4 separate regions of the Homo sapiens genome follow, and regions 1, 2 and 3 are each linked to region 4. The links are contacts of gene promoters, found by promoter capture Hi-C in blood cells and fetal thymus (Javierre and others, 2016). All regions are on one chromosome and are shown on one strand. Each heading gives the region's core, a stretch centred on a gene start or on the middle of the fragment in contact. The rest is flanking DNA. Distances are from core to core; before and after follow the strand shown.

Region 1 (5,159 bases), core at 765-3,264, 530 kb before region 4:
ATATTATACAATCAGTTATTTCTCTATTGTTCTATTTCTTGGTTCCTTCATTAAAAGGAAAACAACTTTGAAATCACCAATCGCTTTTTTTTCTTTCTTTCTGCTTTATTTAGCCATTTTCTGTCTATAAAACCACACTCCTCTGCTTGGCTTATTAGAACACTTATTCTATTTTGTGGAATAAAGTGTTGTCTGATTCTAGAATTGCAAATAAGCCAATTAATATCTTTAAATTGTTAGAATTTTATCTTTTGCCTGTTGAGATGTAGAAAGAATTCTGAAGGCCTTCGTTCTATCTCTTGATGTGCTAACCTTGGGCAAGTCACTTACTACTTTGGGTTTCCATTTTATTTAACATTCAATATTTAACTACCTACTTATGGAGGTGGCAATGTCTTGGGAGATTATTTATAGAATGATATTGATATGCATTCTGTCTATCTCTCAGAAATGGCATAAGAATAAATTTGGATTTGAAAGCCCCGTGAAACATTCATAAATCTCCTGCATCTCAGAACAAAAGGCCACAAATCAAAGAGGGAAGTTCTTGCCTCATTTAAGACTGGACTTATAATAACAAAGCCTTTCATTCAATTAATGGCAAAGTGAAGAAAGATCAGACTGGAGATTTTCATCATAGCAAGCTTGACTTGGTGCAAAGAAATGCAAGAGGTCAAACCTGTGGGTTGATTCAACTAAAGAAAAATCTCTTTCTTGGATTCCTATAGCCTTGCCATAATCTAAAATGTCTCCTTACTGATAGAGGCTTTAGACATCGTTTCCCTCCTCTCCTTCCTTCTTTATGAAGCAACTAATGGAAGCTATGCTAGGTTCTGGGATTAATCTATGCAGATTAGTTTGCGCTACTCAGGATATACTAACAGTGTAGCTCACTAACACTATACTAACACTATACTAACAGTGTCTTGGACAGGATAGAGGTTTATTTCTCTTATTTGTTATGATGGCTTTGTTCTGTGAATCCTTTCGTTATATATTCTCTGCCATCCCTATGGTGTTGCCCTTATGCAAATGGTTCAAGGTGACACACTACCACACCCACATCTCATAAGGCAGAAAAGGAGGAAAGTGGAAGTGAAGGGTATGCCTCTTCCCTCTAGGGACAAAACTTAGAGGTTACACATATTAGTTCTGCTCATATTGCCTGGAGGCTGGGAAATGCATCTTCATATTGGGGAACCATATGCCCAGCTAAACATTAGGGATTCTGTTACTCTGAGAGAGAAGAGGGAATGGGACAACCAAAAACCTGGGATGCTAACAAGAACGACTCTTGGTTCCTTCCTAAAAATTGCTTACTTTAGTGAGAGAAAACAGAAGTCTAAATAGGTAATGAAACATATATTAAATATATATGTGTTTAGAGATGGGGTCTCACTATGTTGCTCAGGCTGGACTTGAACTCCTGGGCTCTAGTTATCCTCCTGTCGTGGCCTCCCAAGTAGCTGGGATTATAGGCGGGTGCCAAGGAGCCTGGCTTGACTTTCTTCTTTCTCTAACTTGTTTCCTTTGCTGACTTTTCCTCTATACCCATAAGAATTTCACTAGACTGGAATTTTGTCTGGTTCAGGTAAGGCCTGCACCTCCTGTCTTTCTACATTTCCCTTGGAATCACGTGCACCATTTTGGTGACAGCAGTTTTAAGCAAATGGCTCATACATCTCTATGCATAAAGCAAAACCATGATTGTTAATCAAAATTCCCTGGATCTCAGTTTCATCTTCTTTTTTTTTTGCCACCTGTGGGGTATTTCCAACAAGGTTCTCTTAAGGTAACTTAATTGCCAGTAGCCAAACTCATCTTGCCTACCCCTTCTGCAAATCTCCTCACCAACATCCTGTTCCTCACAATACCACTCAGAAACTGACTCCTGCTTTGCTTCACTGCAATACATCACTGGAATAATTCAGGCTTCACAAGGTGGAGTTATCTTTTCTTTTCCCTGGACCCTGACTCTCCGTATCATACATTAAATATAAATTGCTGATCATAGTGCTTGCTTTCATTACTGTAATCTTGCTACTCAGTGCCTTGCCTGTGCTATTGTGATGCCCCTCTTCTCTGCTTTAAATTCTTGTTCACTATCTGTCTTCCTACAATATAATTTGATTTGGCTCAATCTGCTAAAAAATCTTCACCAATAGGCTATTATGTATCAATGAGGCAATTCTCTTCGGCCTTCTATTTCCAAGTCGGCTTTTCATAATATGGCCTCAACTTTCCATCATCTCTGCAATATCCTCTTAAGACATATTAGACTAATTGCCATTCCTGGATGTGTTCTCCACTCTCCTATGTCTACCTCTATGTGTATTTACATGACTGTTCCTTCTTCCTGATAACCCTGCCTGTTTTACCCTGATGAAATCTTACCCATTTTTAAGGGCCAATTGAAATACCACATTCTTTATGAAAGTTCCCCTGAACTTCTGTAAGCCAGCAATACATTTGGCGTTAGAGGCAGTAACTAACTTGTCTTCGTGTTGCTAGTGTCTGGCAACCCCTGGGGGTAACCAGCAAGTCTGCTCAAATGTTAGAGCTGATGCTAACATTTGATTTCCTCACAGATTATGTTGTCTAACCTTTCCACTCCCCCCAAATAGATTGTGTGATTCTTGGAGGCAGGGTCCATTCAACTCTGTATCCTCAGTACGTTTTGTCTCACTTAATATTCGCTCAATTAAATATTGGTTTAACAGAATTGTTTCGGTGATGGTAATGGCAGTGATTTTCTTGGAATGAGTAGGGGACAAGCCACTTAGGGGGACTGTAACACTACTCAGAAGAGCCACCATTTCAGACTCTTCCTAAGAAACCAATGATACGTTCTTAAGAAAGAGTCTCTTACTACACTAGTTTTAAGAGAGGGTAGAAGACAATACTGCTTGGAGGAAATTCTAGTGATCGAGAGAGAAAATAGATTTTGTATACAAAAGATTTTGTGATGTTTTTGTGTAGGATTGTCCTGGGGGGTTATCAGATCTAATAATGAGCTCTTCCCTAGCTTCCTTTTTCCATCCTTAAACCTGCATTCAGCTTCACCAAGGTGAGTGTTGGAGTGGTTAAAGAAGAGGCTCATTTGTAAGGAAAATAGTGGTGGATAAAATTCCATAGTGCATTTCTATTAAACCTTTTGGAGAGGTCAGCAAAAGATACATAAACTCTTTTCTGACATTTCCTTATGTGACTCAAAATGCGATAAGAAAAACTGAAGTTTCTTTGATTCACCATCTTCTACCTCTCACCATGGTCCCTATCCCAATTCAGTGATAAGGAAGAAGCAGTTGTTTAGAAATGGGTCATTAGGAGAATGGATGAAACTCCTGGTTCAAATCTTACTTTGATGCAATTCTGTTAAGCTTCAATGTCTGTTTTTAAAACATGTGAGTTAATTTGGTTCAATGATTATGGCCAAGGCATCTGGTTGGATAACATAATGTCATGAAGTTGTATGGCTTTGGCCCCTGCCCTTAAAACTTTTAGTATATTTGAGGCAGAGACATAAGAAAGGGATTAATTCCAAACTAGCAGAGTCATTATTCTTAACACCAGAAGATGGGTAGAGATAAGCCTGAATAGAGAAAAAAAATGGGGCTCTACTCCAAGCCATGCTGCCTGTATTTATTCCTGCCTCTACCTCTTACTTGCTCTGTAACTGGGCAAGTGACCTAATTTCCTTGCGCCTCAGTTTCTTCATTAGTAAATTGATGCTGTTATAATACTTTATATGCTGTTTAGGATTATTGTGAGGGTTAAAATGAGTACATATTTGTAAAGTACTCAGAATTTGTAAAATATTTACAATAGTGCCTGGGACATAGTAATTGCCATTTAGTCATTATTACTTGTTATAACTGCTAAAAATGTTTTTATTGTAGTAAAAAATCCATACCCTTAAATTTACCACTTAACTTCTTTTAAGTGTATAGTTCAGTTGTGTTAAGTATATTCACATTGTTGTGCAACAAATAGAGATCTCTAGAAATTTTTCATCTTGCAAAACTAAAAGTCTACACCCATTGAACAATAATGTCTCCTTCCCCCAGCCCTTGACACCCACCTTTCTACTTTCCATTTTTGTGAGTTTGACTACTTTAGATACCTCACATAAGTGGACTCATGCAGTCTTGGTCTTTTTGTGACTGGCTTCTTCCATCTAGCATAATGTTCTCAAAGTTTATCCATGTAACCATGTTTGTTCATCTGTATGACCTTGTTCATAGCATAGGAAAGGATTCATTCCTTTTTAAAGGCTGAATAATATTCCGTCATATGTGTGTACCACATTTTTAACTTCATTCATCCATAGATGAACATCCGAGTTGCTCTACCTCTTGGCTATTGTGAATAATGCTGCAATAAACAAAGATATGTAAGGATCTTTTCAACATCCTGATTTCTTCTTGGTGCAGTGGCTCATACCTGTAATCCCAGCACTTTGGGAGTCCAAGGCAGGTGGATCACTTGAGACCAGGAGTTTGAGAGCAGCCTGGCCAACATAGTGAAACCCCACCTCAACTAAAAATACAAAAACTAGCCAGGCATTGCGGCAAACACTTGTAATCCCAACTACTCAGGAGGCTGAGGTGTGAGAATCGCTTGAACCAGGGAGGCAGAGGCTGCAGTGAGCCTAGATCGCACCACTGCACTCCAGCCTGGATGACAGAGTGAGACCCTGTTTCAAAAAAACAATCCTGATTTTGAATATTTGTCCAGAAGAGGGATTGATGGATTATTTGGTAACTCTATGTTTAATTTTTCAAGAAACCTCTATATTGTTTTCCATAAAGGCTGCTCCAGTTTACATTCCCAAAGCTGTGTACAGGGACTCTAATTTCTCCACATCCTTGCTAACACTTGTTATTTTCTGTTGTTTTGATAGTGGCCATCCCAATAGGTGTGAGGTGATATCTCATTGTTATAATTTTTGCATTTCTTATCTATCAGCTGATCAAAATCCTGCTCCCCCTGCTGTCCCTCCACCATGGTTTAAAAGAGTCTAACCTAGAGCTTAAAATATCTAAGAGACAAAGACGGGAATCAGTCTCAGAATTGCCCATGAGGATGTGTGCTAAGTCCAAGAGAACACATTGGTCCTAAAACTTCAATTAAATCCACTGAAATCTCTTCATGGTGTA
Region 2 (4,952 bases), core at 310-2,809, 520 kb before region 4:
GAAATACTGAGTGGCAACTTTAAAATATTCAAATGGGGATGTCAAATAGATAAAGGCGTGAAGCTCAGAGTAGGAGTCTTGGCAAGAGATTTAACTTTGTGCCTTTGGTACATAGATAATAATTAAAGCTGTTGGCAAGGATGACTTTTTCTAGGGAGATGATATTATATATAGTGACAAGAGGCAAGAGACAAAAAATAGAGGAATTTCATAATTTCACAGCTAGATGGAAACAGATGCATCTGCAAAGGACACACAAGGTGTCAGCTCCTGAATGGTGGGGACCATGATTTTGTATTCATCATTGCATTCTAAACTCCTAGCAAAATTCCTGGCATACAGAAGGCACTCAATATATATTTGATAAATGAAAGAAGTAATGAGTGGAGCAACCAGAGAGTTCAACGTAAAACAAATGCATATAAGTATCATGGAATCAAAGGAAGAGAATATTTTAAGTAAGACAGATTACAAACGATGCCCATCACTGCTGAGAAAGTTAAGATGAAGACTGAAAAAGTCCATTGATTTTAGCAAGCTGGAGGTCACTGGTACCGTGATGTCAGCTGTTTAAGTGGAATGATGGAAACAGAAGACTTGTTTTATAAGCTTCTGTCAGACTTTTTGTTAGATTCCTTAGCATATTGGCAAATTGCTTTCCTAAATTATAACTGAGGGTGACATAGTTTCAGTAGTAAAGGCATTTCTTAACTCTTTCTTCTCAAAGACCATCCCCACACAATAATATCAGGAAACAAGAAAGCAAATTTCATCTTTGATAAATCTTATAGGGCAAATATAAGCAACAATATATGAAGACTAAGTACAGGCAGAGCCATAGTTCCTGGCATAGTGGAAAGGAAGAGGGTTGTATTCAAGCACCTGTGAAGTTCTTGTTATTGGAAAGTGGCACCAAATAAATGTATGTTAATTGGTCTCATAGCACCCTTGTAAGACTGCAGGGCTGCGGACAGCAGGACCTCTGAGGATTATGTTGTAGGAGGGAAGGTGATGGTGAGACAGGTGGCAGGAAACTGTTGGGGTTCACATCCCCCTTTGTTCCAGCAAGAGGGAGTAGGTTTATTTAGAAAAACTGAACCAGAGAGGCAATGGACTTGGGGACAACTTGGCGTTACTAAAGAGGGCATGAGTGAAATTCTACTCTGAAAACAAGCCAATCAAGTGAAAGCCCGTTAAATAAATGGAGGATATCCAACCTCATATCCTGGCCAGCTTCAAGGTCCTGGCAGTGAGGATGATGTTTGCAGGTTAGGAGACAGGAGGATTCTTCGAAAGGATCAGCACTTTCTCAGAGAAAGCAGCTGTAGGTCTACACAAAATACCAGGGCATCCAGCCTCCCTCCTGTGAGGACCTGATTCTACATAATTCTTGCAATGCACATAGAGTTTTCTGATAATCTTAGCGTCTAACTCTAATGTATGAATAGAAAAAAAGTTCATCAGCTATTTGAAGAAAATCTCCATCAAATAAGACTCAAAGAAACAGAAAAAGAGGAATTGGAAGGAGACAGAAACAAGATAAAAAGCAGGATAAACCTTTCAGAAATGGTAATATGTTTCAAGAAATAAGAATAGACACTACATCTTTTTTGTTTGTTTGAGGCAGAGTCTCGCTCTGTCACCTGGCTGGAGTGCAGTGGCACAATCTCAGCTCACTGTAACCTCCGCCTCCTGGGTTCAAGCGATTCTCTTCCCTCAGCCTCCCGAGTAGCTAGGACTACAGGCATGCGCCACCATGCCCAGCCAATTTTTGTATTTTTAGTAGAGACGGGGTTTCATCATGTTGGCCAGGATGGTCTCGATCTCTTAACCTCGTGATCCACCCCGCCTCGGCCTCCCAAAGAGCTGGGATTACAGGCGTGAGCCACTGCGCCCAGCCGACACTGCATTTTTGAAACAAGAATAGGATGTTATTAAATAAAGGAATGACTGGAAAACAAAAAGAAATATTGGCAATTATAAATTCAGTTGATGATAAGCGCAGTAGAAGATAAAGTTAAGGAACTCTCCCATAAGATAGAATGAAAAGAGATGATCCATGGGTGAGAAAAAAAAATTCAACCAACATTAGACAAAGAAAACAGAGACTATATGGGAAAGAAATAGTCAATGAAACACTAGATTTCCCAGAACTTAAGGTGTATTCTCCATATTGAAAGGGCCCAATGTTGATCCGCAGGCCCACACTTAACCATTTGCAGTGCCCAGTGCAGGAATACAAATGGAGCCCCACCTACTTTATAGCCCCTACTCTATAAGTTATAAAGTGTCTAGACCCTAGATTCATGTCAGGTTCCACATAAGTCCTGCAGTCTGTCTCTTGGAAACTGCCTTTCTCAACTAGCCAGGAGGCTAAAGGAACATGTGTTTCCCTGCATTAACCCTGACTGCAAGCTGGGAGGTGGGAGGATGGAGAGGGGTAGGGCTGTCTGCTGGAGCAGCAGGGTGGAAGCTGGGTGGGGGCCAAGCATTGACCTGGCCAAGCTTTTGTGGGAGCCTGCTAGGCAAGCGATGCTCTCTGCCCTGCCTCACTTCTGATTTGGGTTTCCCAGGAGGTTCTAAGCAGCTCCCCAAATGATATTACTGACCACAGGAGTAGTAGAGAGTGCATTTATGGAGGGAGAGTGGGTGAACCTGTCTGCCCAGATGTGCTCTTTGGTCTTTTTAAGCTGAAAAACATTAAGCAAAAGCATTCATTTTTTTCTCTGGTGTCCCAGAGCAGAAGCTGTGAATTTATTCTCATTGTACCTTCTCAATTCTGCATCCTCAGGACTTGAGGACCACAGTTCTGCCTGTGCCCCTCTCCCACAATTCCTGTTTTTTATTTATTTGCTGGACTTTTAAAATATTTTCCAAGGAGAGTGAAAGGAATTAAACCATGCGTTTGGTTTTGGGGTGTGTGGAGACCAATCTAAAATGTAGGGCCCAGCACAGCCCCTGCAACACCCGGAATAGAATACTGAGTGCCCAGCACAATAAATGGAAAGAGATCCATATCAACTTAAATCTAATTAAATTTTAGGGATAAAAGGATGATCCTCAAGATTCCAGTGGAGGAAAAAAACAGTTTTACACTAAGGATTGAGAATTAGAGTGAAAATGGAAGGGTAAAAGTTAGAAGATGGTGTCAGAAAGATTCTGAGCAAAAGTCATTTTCAACCTAGTGTCCTATATTTGGCCAGATTATCAGTCAAGTGTGAGGCCAGACTAAGCACATTCTTAGACATGAATGATCTTGAAATGTTTCCCCTCTCATGTGGCTCATTTGCAACAAGCTATGGAAGAATGGGTTTCACCAAAGAAGAAGGCTGAGAAAGAGGGAGGCATTAACTCAGGATATGCATCACCCTATTTGAGAGAAGAAAATAAAATTTCCAGGACAAAGGCAAATTATCTGAGAAGTGTCAGTGAGGAAAATTGTATGAAGAGGGATTTTACAAGTCCGTTGGAAGTGTCAGGAAGACTTAGATGTTTAAAGAAAACCAAATAAGTGAGAAAAAGGAGGTAATTATTAACTCCAGGAAAAACAAAAGGTTTTGTAAGGAAGGAAATATAAGCGTAATTAATAGGTACAGGGTAGTGATGATATTGGTGAACAAAAGGCAAATAATATTTCCTCATTCTAAAAATGAAATCACAACCAAAAAGTCATCAGTACTTGAAACTGACACCTCACTTCCTAGCAGGGCCTACTAGAAGGAAGCCAATGCATCCCTATCATTCACCCCACTGTGTCCACATTAGACACAATTTGGGCAGAGTGAAATTGTTATAGAGATCAAGTGGGGACTGAGAGATTGAGGGTGGGAAACTTTTCCTTCTCATCCCCTCTAGGTGCTTGCTTCACTGTGAAGTCAAATGAAGGAGACGCCTAGAGATTCACTTGGAAAGGATGGCCTCTCCATAAAGCTATTGGACATGGCTGCTGGTCTTTCCCAAAGTAAAAGATGTGAGAAAGGGAAAGAGAGAAAGAGAGAGATCAAGACAGTGAGACAAAGAGACAGACAGAGTGAAGTTGCCAAAAAAAAAAAAAAAATGAAGCCACAGTTTCTTTTATAACATGATCTCAGGGGTATTAATATATACTAACACTTTCCTCATATTCTATGGGTCACACAGACCAATCCTGATATATTAAGGTGGGAACCACACAAGCATGTGAATATCAGGAGGAAGGAATCTTGGGTATCAGCTGTCTCCTAATGACAACAATTTTGATACAAAAATAAGCAAGTTAAGGGGATTGAGGATTTTTGTGTATTCAAAGAAGGCTTCAAAATGGTGACATTTGAACAGATTTGAATAAAGGGACAAAACATGCTTGATAAAGATATAAGCAAGCTTGGTATATTGGCATAGTGTTAAGAGGCCAGTGTGGCTAAATTAGTGAAGTAAATTAGTTATAGAGAAGTCAATAAGTTCAAAGATAGGAGATAGGCAGGGGACCAATTATGCAGAACCTTGGCTTTAGAAACAGATTTGGATTTCATTATTATGAAAATGATGGAAGTGGTGAGTACAAAAGCCCCTATAGAGTGTGTGGAAGAGAAAATGGGAGGTGAGAACATGGCGAACAATAACTATAACATTCTTTTCAAAGATTTTTGCAATAAAGATGTCAGACAAATTGTGTGGTAAATGGAGAGGCATTAAATATGTAGAGAGAGCTTTGTAAAAATGGGAGATATTACAGCACATTTGTCATAAAGAAGAACAAATTGAAGATGCAGGGAGAAATGGAACATAATTACGGAAGCAAAATCCTTGATTAGGTAATACGGTATGGAATCTAGCATGAAGGTAAAAGATAGGGCCAAGGAACTTCACTTACCATCATGAGAGAAGCCAGAGAATATGTAGGTTTGAGTTCTGTGTGGGTTGGTCAATGTGGTGGTAGTTATGGTGAGATCCTTCTTTCCTGATTTCTTTGA
Region 3 (5,017 bases), core at 1,335-3,834, 580 kb before region 4:
GCTCCTGCCCATTTCCTAGTCTGATCTTCCAGCATCTTGATAACTTGGCGCATTTTTGATACATCTCCAATAAATTTCTCTTTTTATTTAAGTGAGCAGAATAGGTTTATATGACTTGTAACAAAAAAGACTCCAAACTGATGTACCAAATTTCGATTTCACTTTCTTCCAATCTATTCTCTATGCTTCTGCTGAAGTGGTGTTTGTAAACTGATTTAATCCTGTATTTTCCCTGCTTAATACTCATCAGTGATTCCCCAGTCATTGCCTCCAGGATAACCTCCTTAGTCAGGCATATGAAGCCTTCCATGATCTGGCCTCCTATGTCTCTCTTGGGACCTGTTGCTACACCTCGTGGTTCAGCCACGCTAAATCACCCAGCTAGCACAATATCTTCACATTGCCTGTATTTCTGCCTGGAATTCCTAACTCCTCCTTCTCATATCTACTTGTCAATTCTTATTCAAGAGACACCTTAGGGTTCCTTACCTCTGTAAAGCTTCCCTAACTGCCCCCACACTGGTCATCCGTAGTAGATAGACAACTCTGTCCTTTGGGCTGTACACTGTATCCTGTCCTTAATCATCTTTCTACCACCTCACCAGGACCTCACCTGCCTTCATGTCCGCCTCCACAATATTGCGCTACATTTCTACTTATAGCACCTGTTTTTTTTTGAATGATTGGTGCTTAGTATAGTAGACCTGTATTAAATAAAAGAAAAACATTTGAAAAGTTTAAAAATAAACCGATAGGTGGCAGCAGAGCCCTGCTGTTAAAAGTAACTTTTGCAGTTCTAAACGTTTTTAACCCTCATGAGCCAGCAGGTGGTGCTGTCTGACACCAAAGCGCCACGTCACAACGGATGCGCAATCACTATTTTATGTGAGTGCAGATTTGTATTAAAACCGGAAAGCATGGACACCCAGACAGCTTACTGTCAATGACTGTACTATTCACTGTCTTCAACAAAAGTCAGCTATTCCAGGAAACTCTCGTCCAGAAAGATAAAAATTGCAAGTAACTGTTTTTTGTTTCAGGAAATTCCCCAGAAAACAACCCTTGAGAAAACCAGACTGTTCAACTTTCCCGCTGATAGCGCTGAACAACCTTTTACTCCTCAGGACTCTTCAAAATCCATGGCATTTACTGATCCTTAATTACCACATCACGATCTTTACCAAATTCTGATCAACCTCATGCCCCCACCTTGAAAGACCCACCTTCAATGTTATAAATATCCCAACTTTGGCACCTGGCTTTGAGACACTACTAAGAATCTAGATAGTGTGAACCCAAAATATCTGAGACAGGTCTCAGTCAACTTAGAAAGTTTTTTTTTTTGCCAAGGTTAAGGACGTGCCTCAGGAGGTCCTGACAGCATGTGTCCAAGGTGGTTGGGGTACAGCTTGCTTTTATAAATTTTAGGAGAATGAGACATCAATCAATATGCGGAAGATTTACATGGTTCGGTCTGGAAGGGTGGGACAATTCGAAGGGTGAGGAGAGAAGAGGAGCTTCCGGGTCATAGGTAGGTTTAAACATATTCTGATTGGGAATTGGTTGAAAGAGTTACGAAAGGAATGTCTGGGTTACCAGGAGGGGTTGTAGAGACCACGGTTTTATCATGAAGATGAAGCCTCCAGGTAGCAGGCTTTAAAGAAAAATAGATTGTAAGTATTTCTTATCAGACTTAAGGTCTGTGTTAATGTTAATGAGGCATGTCCAACCCTCACTTCCCGTCACGGCCTGAGCCAGTCTTTCAGGTTAAATTTTACATGCCCTGGCCAAAGAGTTAGTCCATTCAGATCGTTGCCAGGGGCCTTCAAATTCTATTTTTGGTTTACCGCAGGGGTCTCCTACCCCTGCAATAACTTTACCTAAAGGTATCCTGTTAGGAACCAGGCTGCATAGCGGGAGGTGGGAAGCAGGCAAGTGAGCATTACTGACTGAACTCCGCCTCCTGTCAGATCAGCAGCAGCTTTAGATTCTCATAGCAGTGCGAACCCTATTGTGAACTGTGCATGTGAGGGATCTAGGTTGTGTGCTCCTTATGAGAATCTAATGTCTGATGATCTGAAGTGGAACAGTTTCATCCCCAAACTATCCCCACCTGACCACCCCATCCGGAGAAAAATTGTCCCATGGAAGCTGTCCCTGGTGCCAAAAAAGGTTGGGGACCAGCAGTTCACAGTAGCCATCTCCCTATGGCGGTGAGCAATAAACTCAACTTTGCCTTATGAAAAGGTTCTTTCACTGGTGTTTGAGAGAAGCCGGCATTTGACAATATATGTCAACCTAAACAAACAAAAGTATTTTAGGGCTTTGCTACTCAGAGTGTGGGGTTGGTTTAAAATGCAGGGTCTCAGGCCCCACCTCAGTCCCGTAGAATCAGAATCCGCATTTTCACAAGATGCCCAGGTGACTGTGTGCACATTGCAGGCTGTGGTCTTGGGCATTATTCTTCTAAAGAATGAGTGCAGGCTGGGCGCGGCGGCTCTTGCCTGTAATCCCAGCACTTTGGGAGGCCGAGGTGGGTGAATCACAAGGTCAGGAGTTCGAGACCAGCCTGGTCAACATTTTTAATAGAAACCCCTTTTCTATTAAAAATACAAAAAATTAGCTTGGCGTAGTGGTGAGCGCCTGTAATCCAGCTACTCGGGAGGCTGAGTTACGAGAATCGCTTGAACCTGAGAGGTGGAGGTTGCAGTGAGCCGAGATCACGCCACTGCACTCCAGCCTGGGTGACAGAGCGAGACTCTGTCTAAAAAAAAAAAAAAAAGAATGAGTGCAGATGAAAGTTTAAACTTTAAAGAACAGTGGTTTTGTTCTTTTGTTTTTAGTCGGTTTATCACCAACAGAATAGGAGAAAGATTTGGATTAAAATTTCTGCTTTGTTTAAAAATTCTTCAGTTTTGTGACCTGCCTTAAGAGGATGAGTGGGTTTTTCAGGTATATGGGGAAACATTTATCTGCTGAATTCTTTTAGATCATTAAAAACAAAACAAACACAAACCTGCCGGTTTTTCCTAGGAGGCACCTGTGAGGACGTGGGCTTGTATTTCCTAGATACATTTTAAATCCACAAGCATAGTATATTCAGTAATATCTAGAAAGCTGGTTGATATAAAGGTTTTCTAAATATATATATTTTAAATTTGGATCTGTTATTTATACCACACTTTCTTATGTGTTATATTTGTACCTTTTTTCAGTGGTGAGTCCCATTTGTCTTAATGATTTCTGCTGATATACCAAACAGATGTGATGAAAAGAATAAGTATTTGCCTTCAGAAGGCATGGATTAAAATCCCAGCTCTAGGCTAGGAGTGGTGGCTTATGCCTGTAAGCCCAGTGCTTTGGAAAGCTGAGGTGGGTGAATGGCTTGAGCCCAAGAACATGGTGAAACCTCATCTCTACAAAAAACACAAAAATTAGCTGGGTGTGGTGGTGGGTACCTGTAGTCCCAGCTACACAGAAAGCTGAGCGGGGAGGGTCGCATGAGTTGCAGTGAGCCAAGATCACACCACTGTATTCCAGCCTGGGTGACAGAGCAAGGCCGTGTCTAGCAACAGGCAACAACAACAACAGGGAAAATCCCAGCTCTGCTTCTGTCCGGCTATGTAACGTGGGCCTATCCCCTTAACCTCTCTGAGCCTCAGTTTTCTCATCCTAAGTGGGGAAAATATTATCTATATAAAAGAACTGATTGGGGGATTAAAAGAGAGTCTGTAATAAAACATCTGTAAACCACATTTGTTTTGTAGTCATTTCTCCTAAACCCTCATGCTGCCATAGCACGTATTACCAAGCAGCACAACGGAGGATATTAATGAATGAAATAATGCATCACCTATTAAGTCACTTTAATAGGAATAGAAGGGAGAGGCAAGAGTTTCTAGAGACGATGACTTACCACTCCCAAATACTGTTTCTTATGGCGGTAAATGACAGCTTTGGAGGTATGGTAGGTATGTGGTTTGGGTCTGGGTTATCTTATATCACACCCCACATTAGCTACCTACCTAACTCTGCATCAGACAGGTTACATGTATTTCATCTAAAGTAGTAACTCAGAAAGTGCACTTATCTTCTGTTGAATTTCCTTTCATGTCAGCCTCTCTAAAAAACCACCTGACCCACTGCTTTTTGCTATTGCTGCTTAAAGAGCTTGTTTCCCCCACCATGATTAGCTTTGTGCCTACACTAAGGCACTCCTACAGATTCTTCAACCTCTTCTCATGTGATGCAGAAAGTACAAAGGAGAGCCCTGGCCGAACTGTCCAGTTTAGTAAAACACCCAGAGGAGTAACTATGTTTATTTAGGGTGTTTCAGAGCTTGCTGCTCTGCCTAGTCTATTGTAAGAGCTCTGAAATTATTAGAGCTTTTCCTAAAAATATCCACACTTGGATGTGACTCAGTCATAGAAAAACAACTGACCCAAGAAACAGAGAGTCTGAGTTTTGGTTCTTGGTTTGTTTTGTTCTTATTGTGTTTTCATTTTGTTGCATGAAACATGAAACCTCCGGTCTTGGGATAGATTTGAGTCCTGACTCAGCCAGTGATAAGTTGTTTGACCTTGGGTGAGTTACTAAACTTCTCTGGGGCTAAATTTCTTCATCTAAGAAGTGGATTAGATACAGCAACATATTATAGTTCGAAGCTTCTGGCTGGACGTTGTGGCTCACGACTGTAATCCCAGCATTTTGGGAGGCTGAGGTGGGAGGATCTCTTGAACCCAGAAGTTCAAGACTAGCCTGGGCAACATGGCAAAACCCTGTCTCTACTAAATATACAAAAATTAGTCAGGCATGATGGAGCATGCCTGTAATCCCAGCTACTCAGGAAGCTGAGGTGGGAGGATCGATTGAGCCCAGGAGTTTGAGATTGCAGTGAACCATGATTGAACCACTATACTCCAACCTGGGCAACAGAGCAAGACCCTGTCTCAAAAAAAAAAAAAAGAAAAAAGAAAAAGTTTATGTGGAATATGCCAAACAGGTTCAGCCCCAGGTT
Region 4 (4,775 bases), core at 44-2,543:
AAACATTCATAATTCACAAATTATATCTTTATTAAATAAAAATAGCTTTGTATTCATCTAGCTAAATGGCTACTTATTATCTTATAATCAAGATAAAGTGTTTTATTTATATTAATTTTGAATTAGACAATCTTTCTTGAGTCTCCACGTTTTCAGAATTTTGGTAATCCACTTTTTTTCGGTAGTTTTTGAAAGAGTGGGGCGGGGTGAGGAACCTTGACTCTTCACAATGAACACATTAGTCCCCGCTTATCTGCAGTTTCAGTGACCCAAGGTCAACCACAGTCCAAAAATAGGTGTGTACAGTACAGTAAGGTATCTTGAGAGAGTGAGAGACACCACACTATATATTTTAACACATTTTTTTACTTTTTATTTTTTTAATTTTTATTTATTTTAGATACAGGGTCTCCCTATGTTGCCCAGGCCGGTCTCAAACTTTTGGGCTCGAGCGGTCCTCCCGCCTCAATCTCCCAAATTGCTAGGATTACAGGGATGAGCCACAACCCCTGGCAACTTTTATTATAGTATATTGTTTTAATTGTTCTATTTTATTATTAGTTATTTTTGTAATCTTTTACTGTGCTTGATTTACAAATTAAACTTTATCATAGGTAGGTGAATACAGGAAAAAAATATATTGTATATAGAGTTTGGTACTATCTGCTGTTTTAGGCATCCACTGGGGGTCTTGGGACATAGGCCTCATGGATAAGGGGAACTAGTGTATCTATTTCTTTGCTTGGTTTTCAGTTTTGCAAGTTATGATGTAATATAGTACTGCTTTCTTTGGTAGCTGTTGCTGATTTTGTAAAATTTGTTTTTTTATCACTTTTAAGTTTAAAAAAGAAATATGAGGGGAAAAGCGGATAAAATGTGAAGGCATTTGGTGCCTATGGAGGGATGGTGGTGAGCACTGCTAAGTAGTGATGAGGCAGGGAATGAGAAAGATGGATGCTTTGTAAACGAGTTTCTCTTTAGTCACAGTATTGACCAGATCCAGCTTTAGCTCCACAAGAAATTGAGCACTCTTTTGAAATAGCATAGGTAAGTCTTTGCATATTTTATAAAGCTTCATTGGCTATGCTATTAGCCATAAAAGCTTCATTTAGCTACATATTCTATGAATCAGATTTTTATAATATTTGTACCTCAGAACTCAAGCTGGTTGAATCTAATTTTCTATGCTCAGACAAGGCAAAAAAGTACAAAACAATGAAAGAGAATATATCTTTATTTGCATGGTTGCAAATGTGAGTTTAACTTTGCTGCATAATCATCTATGAAATATTTCTGCCCATGGTGAAGACATAAATATCTTAGCTAGGGCTCAGCAGAGAAATTGAAGAAAAATAAAGATATCACCAGAACAGTTATGTGAAGATCGATCAGCAAACTTTAGAGATTTCTGCTTTGACGTTGAGCCAACAATGAAAGAAGGAGCAGAAAAAGGAGAAGGAAGAAGAACTCCACTGGACACTCAAGGATGTGAATAGCATTTTAGATCAGTGAATAACCAGCAGTGACATTAGACATTGAACTTTCTCTGTTCTGACATGGAAAGTGCCCTGCCGAGTATCTTCACTCTTGTAATAATTGCAGAATTCATAATTGGGAATTTGAGCAATGGATTTATAGTACTGATCAACTGCATTGACTGGGTCAGTAAAAGAGAGCTGTCCTCAGTCGATAAACTCCTCATTATCTTGGCAATCTCCAGAATTGGGCTGATCTGGGAAATATTAGTAAGTTGGTTTTTAGCTCTGCATTATCTAGCCATATTTGTGTCTGGAACAGGATTAAGAATTATGATTTTTAGCTGGATAGTTTCTAATCACTTCAATCTCTGGCTTGCTACAATCTTCAGCATCTTTTATTTGCTCAAAATAGCGAGTTTCTCTAGCCCTGCTTTTCTCTATTTGAAGTGGAGAGTAAACAAAGTGATTCTGATGATACTGCTAGGAACCTTGGTCTTCTTATTTTTAAATCTGATACAAATAAACATGCATATAAAAGACTGGCTGGACCGATATGAAAGAAACACAACTTGGAATTTCAGTATGAGTGACTTTGAAACATTTTCAGTGTCGGTCAAATTCACTATGACTATGTTCAGTCTAACACCATTTACTGTGGCCTTCATCTCTTTTCTCCTGTTAATTTTCTCCCTGCAGAAACATCTCCAGAAAATGCAACTCAATTACAAAGGACACAGAGACCCCAGGACCAAGGTCCATACAAATGCCTTGAAAATTGTGATCTCATTCCTTTTATTCTATGCTAGTTTCTTTCTATGTGTTCTCATATCATGGATTTCTGAGCTGTATCAGAACACAGTGATCTACATGCTTTGTGAGACGATTGGAGTCTTCTCTCCTTCAAGCCACTCCTTTCTTCTGATTCTAGGAAACGCTAAGTTAAGACAGGCCTTTCTTTTGGTGGCAGCTAAGGTATGGGCTAAACGATGAGAAACTCACAATTTCATAAGCCATTCAGACCACAGATTATTGAATATTGCAGACAGAAACAGGAGTCTACAAGGAGTTTAAAAGATATTTTATGCTTCCCCTGGTTTCTTTTATTGTGAAGGTCACTGTAAATGTTTTAAATTCTTCTCTATAATAGCATCTTACCTAAGAATATTATGTATTTATGACATGTATTTCTACATTATTAGGAATTTGAAACTTATTTGAGGAAATTATTGGCAGATTCTATTGTAAATTAAAAACATATACTACAGCATACTTAGATGTTAATTGTAAATCTACAATCTTTTGTTTGGCAATGGCTCTTCAATTCTAAATCATTCATTGAGATGGGTGATTTAGGTAATTATTTTATTATCTCAAGTACTCCTATTTAAATGGTGAGCTACAGATAATTAGAACAGTTATTTGGAATAGAATTAGGGAAGTTTGGACTTGCCACTATTACTATACTGATGTGTTGAGAGAATTGAGAGGGTTAAAAAGTTTAATATGAGTAACTGCCACATAAAAAGATAACGGTTTTTTAGTAATTATATTGTATGTATGTGTACATACATATTTTACATTATGCCTTTTAAAGTAAATATTATTGAGGTATAATTTACATATAATAAAATGCAACATGTTAGTCCACATTTCAGTTAGAGTTTTGACAATGTATACACTTGTGTGACCACAATGTCAGTGCCCTTTGCAGTTTACCCTCTCCCCTCCAGCCCTTTTTCCCAAGCAACTACTTATCTGCTTTTGGTAACAATAAGAGAGTTTTTGATTTCTAGAATTTTATGCATCTATATATCTATAGATATAGATATATAGATGCCATATATACACACACACACACACACATACAGTTATAGAGTGTGTATTGTTATATGTGAGGCTTCTTTAACTCAGCATAATGTTTTTGAAGTTCTTCTGTTTTGTTGTATTAATCAGTAGTTTGTTCCTGAGCAGTGTTCCTGAGTAGTGTTGGATATACCACATTAAAAAATTTCTCTTTCCTGTTAATGAACATTCAAATGGTTTTCAATTATTGGCCATTATAAATAAAACTGATATCAACATTCATGTATTTCTCTTCTTCTGGATATACAATTTCCTCACTCTTGAGTAAATACCTATGAGTAAAAATGTCAAATCATATGATAAGTGTATGTTTAACTTAAGAAAAAACTGCCAGAGTTCTATAGAGTGGTTGCACCATTTCATACTATTGCCAGCAATATACGAGTGTTTCAGTTATTTCACATTCTGGCCAACAGTTGGTAGGTACTCTGTTTTGTTTTCTATTTTGGCCATTCTAGTCAGAATGTAATGGCATCTCATCATAGTTTTAATTCACATTTTCCTAATGGCTAGTGAGGCTGATGATTTTTTCATATGCTTTGGGTCATTCATACAACCTCTTTTTATGAAATGTTTGTTTAAACCTTTTGCCAACTACTTAGCTTGATTCATTGCTTTCTGTTTTTATTACTGAGTTGTAAATGTTCTTTATATAGTCTCTGTATTAGTCCATTTTCATGCTGCTGATAAAGACATACTCAAGACTGGGTAACTTATAAAGAAAAAGAGGTTTAATTGACTGACAGTTCCACATGGCTGGAAAGGCCTCACAATAATGGCAGAGACAAAAGTCACGTCTTACATGGTGGCAGTGAAGAGAGAATGACAGCCAAGCGAAAGGGGAAACCCCTTATAAAAACATCAAGTTTCATGAGACTTATTCACTACCATGAGAACAGTATGGGGGAAACCACCCCCATCATTCAATTATCTCCCACTGAGTCCCTCCCATAACACATGGGAATTATGGGAGCTACAATTCAAGATGAGATTTGGGTGGGGACACAGCCAGACCATATCATTCTGAATATAAGTTCTTTATCAGACATATGTTTTATAAATATTTTCTGCCAGCCAGAGGCTTGTCATTTCATTTTCTTTACAGTGTCTTTCAAAGAGAGGACATTAAAAACTTTTAATGAAGTTCAATAATCAACTATTTTCCTGTAAGAAAATTATTTTTAACTTTTTTTGCTTTCAAAACTCAAAGATATTTTATGGAACAGTTGGAATAAATATTTGCAATAAGGCACAGTTATCCTTGAGTATAAGGACAGAAAGCCTAATTTCATTTTCTCTGCTGTCAGAACAGGTTCTTTGGTGATACCACATGCATTTTTAGTAACCTGTTTCAATAGTACTATCTACTTGAGCATTCTCATTTTCTCTCTTTTATTTTCTTTTTAGAAAGGACCTCCCAAATGGGTTTGCTTA

The links. Contacts are between HindIII fragments. The CHiCAGO score rates a contact against its expected background, and 5 or more counts as called.
Region 1: a fragment that was not itself captured here is called in contact with the fragment with the promoter of TAS2R13 in region 4 in 2 of 17 cell types (activated CD4 T cells and total B cells); the score reaches 6.4 in activated CD4 T cells.
Region 2: a fragment that was not itself captured here is called in contact with the fragment with the promoter of TAS2R13 in region 4 in 1 of 17 cell types (activated CD4 T cells); the score reaches 6.2 in activated CD4 T cells.
Region 3: a fragment that was not itself captured here is called in contact with the fragment with the promoter of TAS2R13 in region 4 in 6 of 17 cell types (erythroblasts, naive CD4 T cells, M1 macrophages and 3 more); the score reaches 6.7 in erythroblasts.

The regions. Positions count from the first base shown.
Region 1 is chr12:11,440,408-11,445,566 of GRCh38, reverse strand. The region is part of intron 2 of LOC440084 (a long non-coding RNA gene); the gene reads left to right. Among named protein-coding and RNA genes, the nearest start is that of PRB2, 47 kb to the right of the region's middle. The HindIII fragment of the contact is 2,736 bases long and covers 647-3,382 here.
Region 2 is chr12:11,422,697-11,427,648 of GRCh38, reverse strand. No RefSeq gene overlaps it. Among named protein-coding and RNA genes, the nearest start is that of PRB2, 30 kb to the right of the region's middle. The HindIII fragment of the contact is 1,896 bases long and covers 612-2,507 here.
Region 3 is chr12:11,482,563-11,487,579 of GRCh38, reverse strand. It overlaps LOC440084 (a long non-coding RNA gene), which reads left to right and starts at 902. Exons shown (of 5, transcript NR_148969.1): 1 at 902-1,016; 2 at 1,429-1,531. The HindIII fragment of the contact is 4,165 bases long and covers 502-4,666 here.
Region 4 is chr12:10,906,080-10,910,854 of GRCh38, reverse strand. It overlaps TAS2R13 (taste 2 receptor member 13), which reads left to right and starts at 1,293. Exons shown (of 1, transcript NM_023920.2): 1 at 1,293-2,929. The coding sequence starts at 1,557. The coding sequence ends at 2,468. All of the region lies in intron 4 of PRH1-PRR4 (PRH1-PRR4 readthrough), which reads left to right. It also overlaps a transcript of PRH1 not described here. The HindIII fragment of the contact is 14,745 bases long and covers 1,105-4,775 here.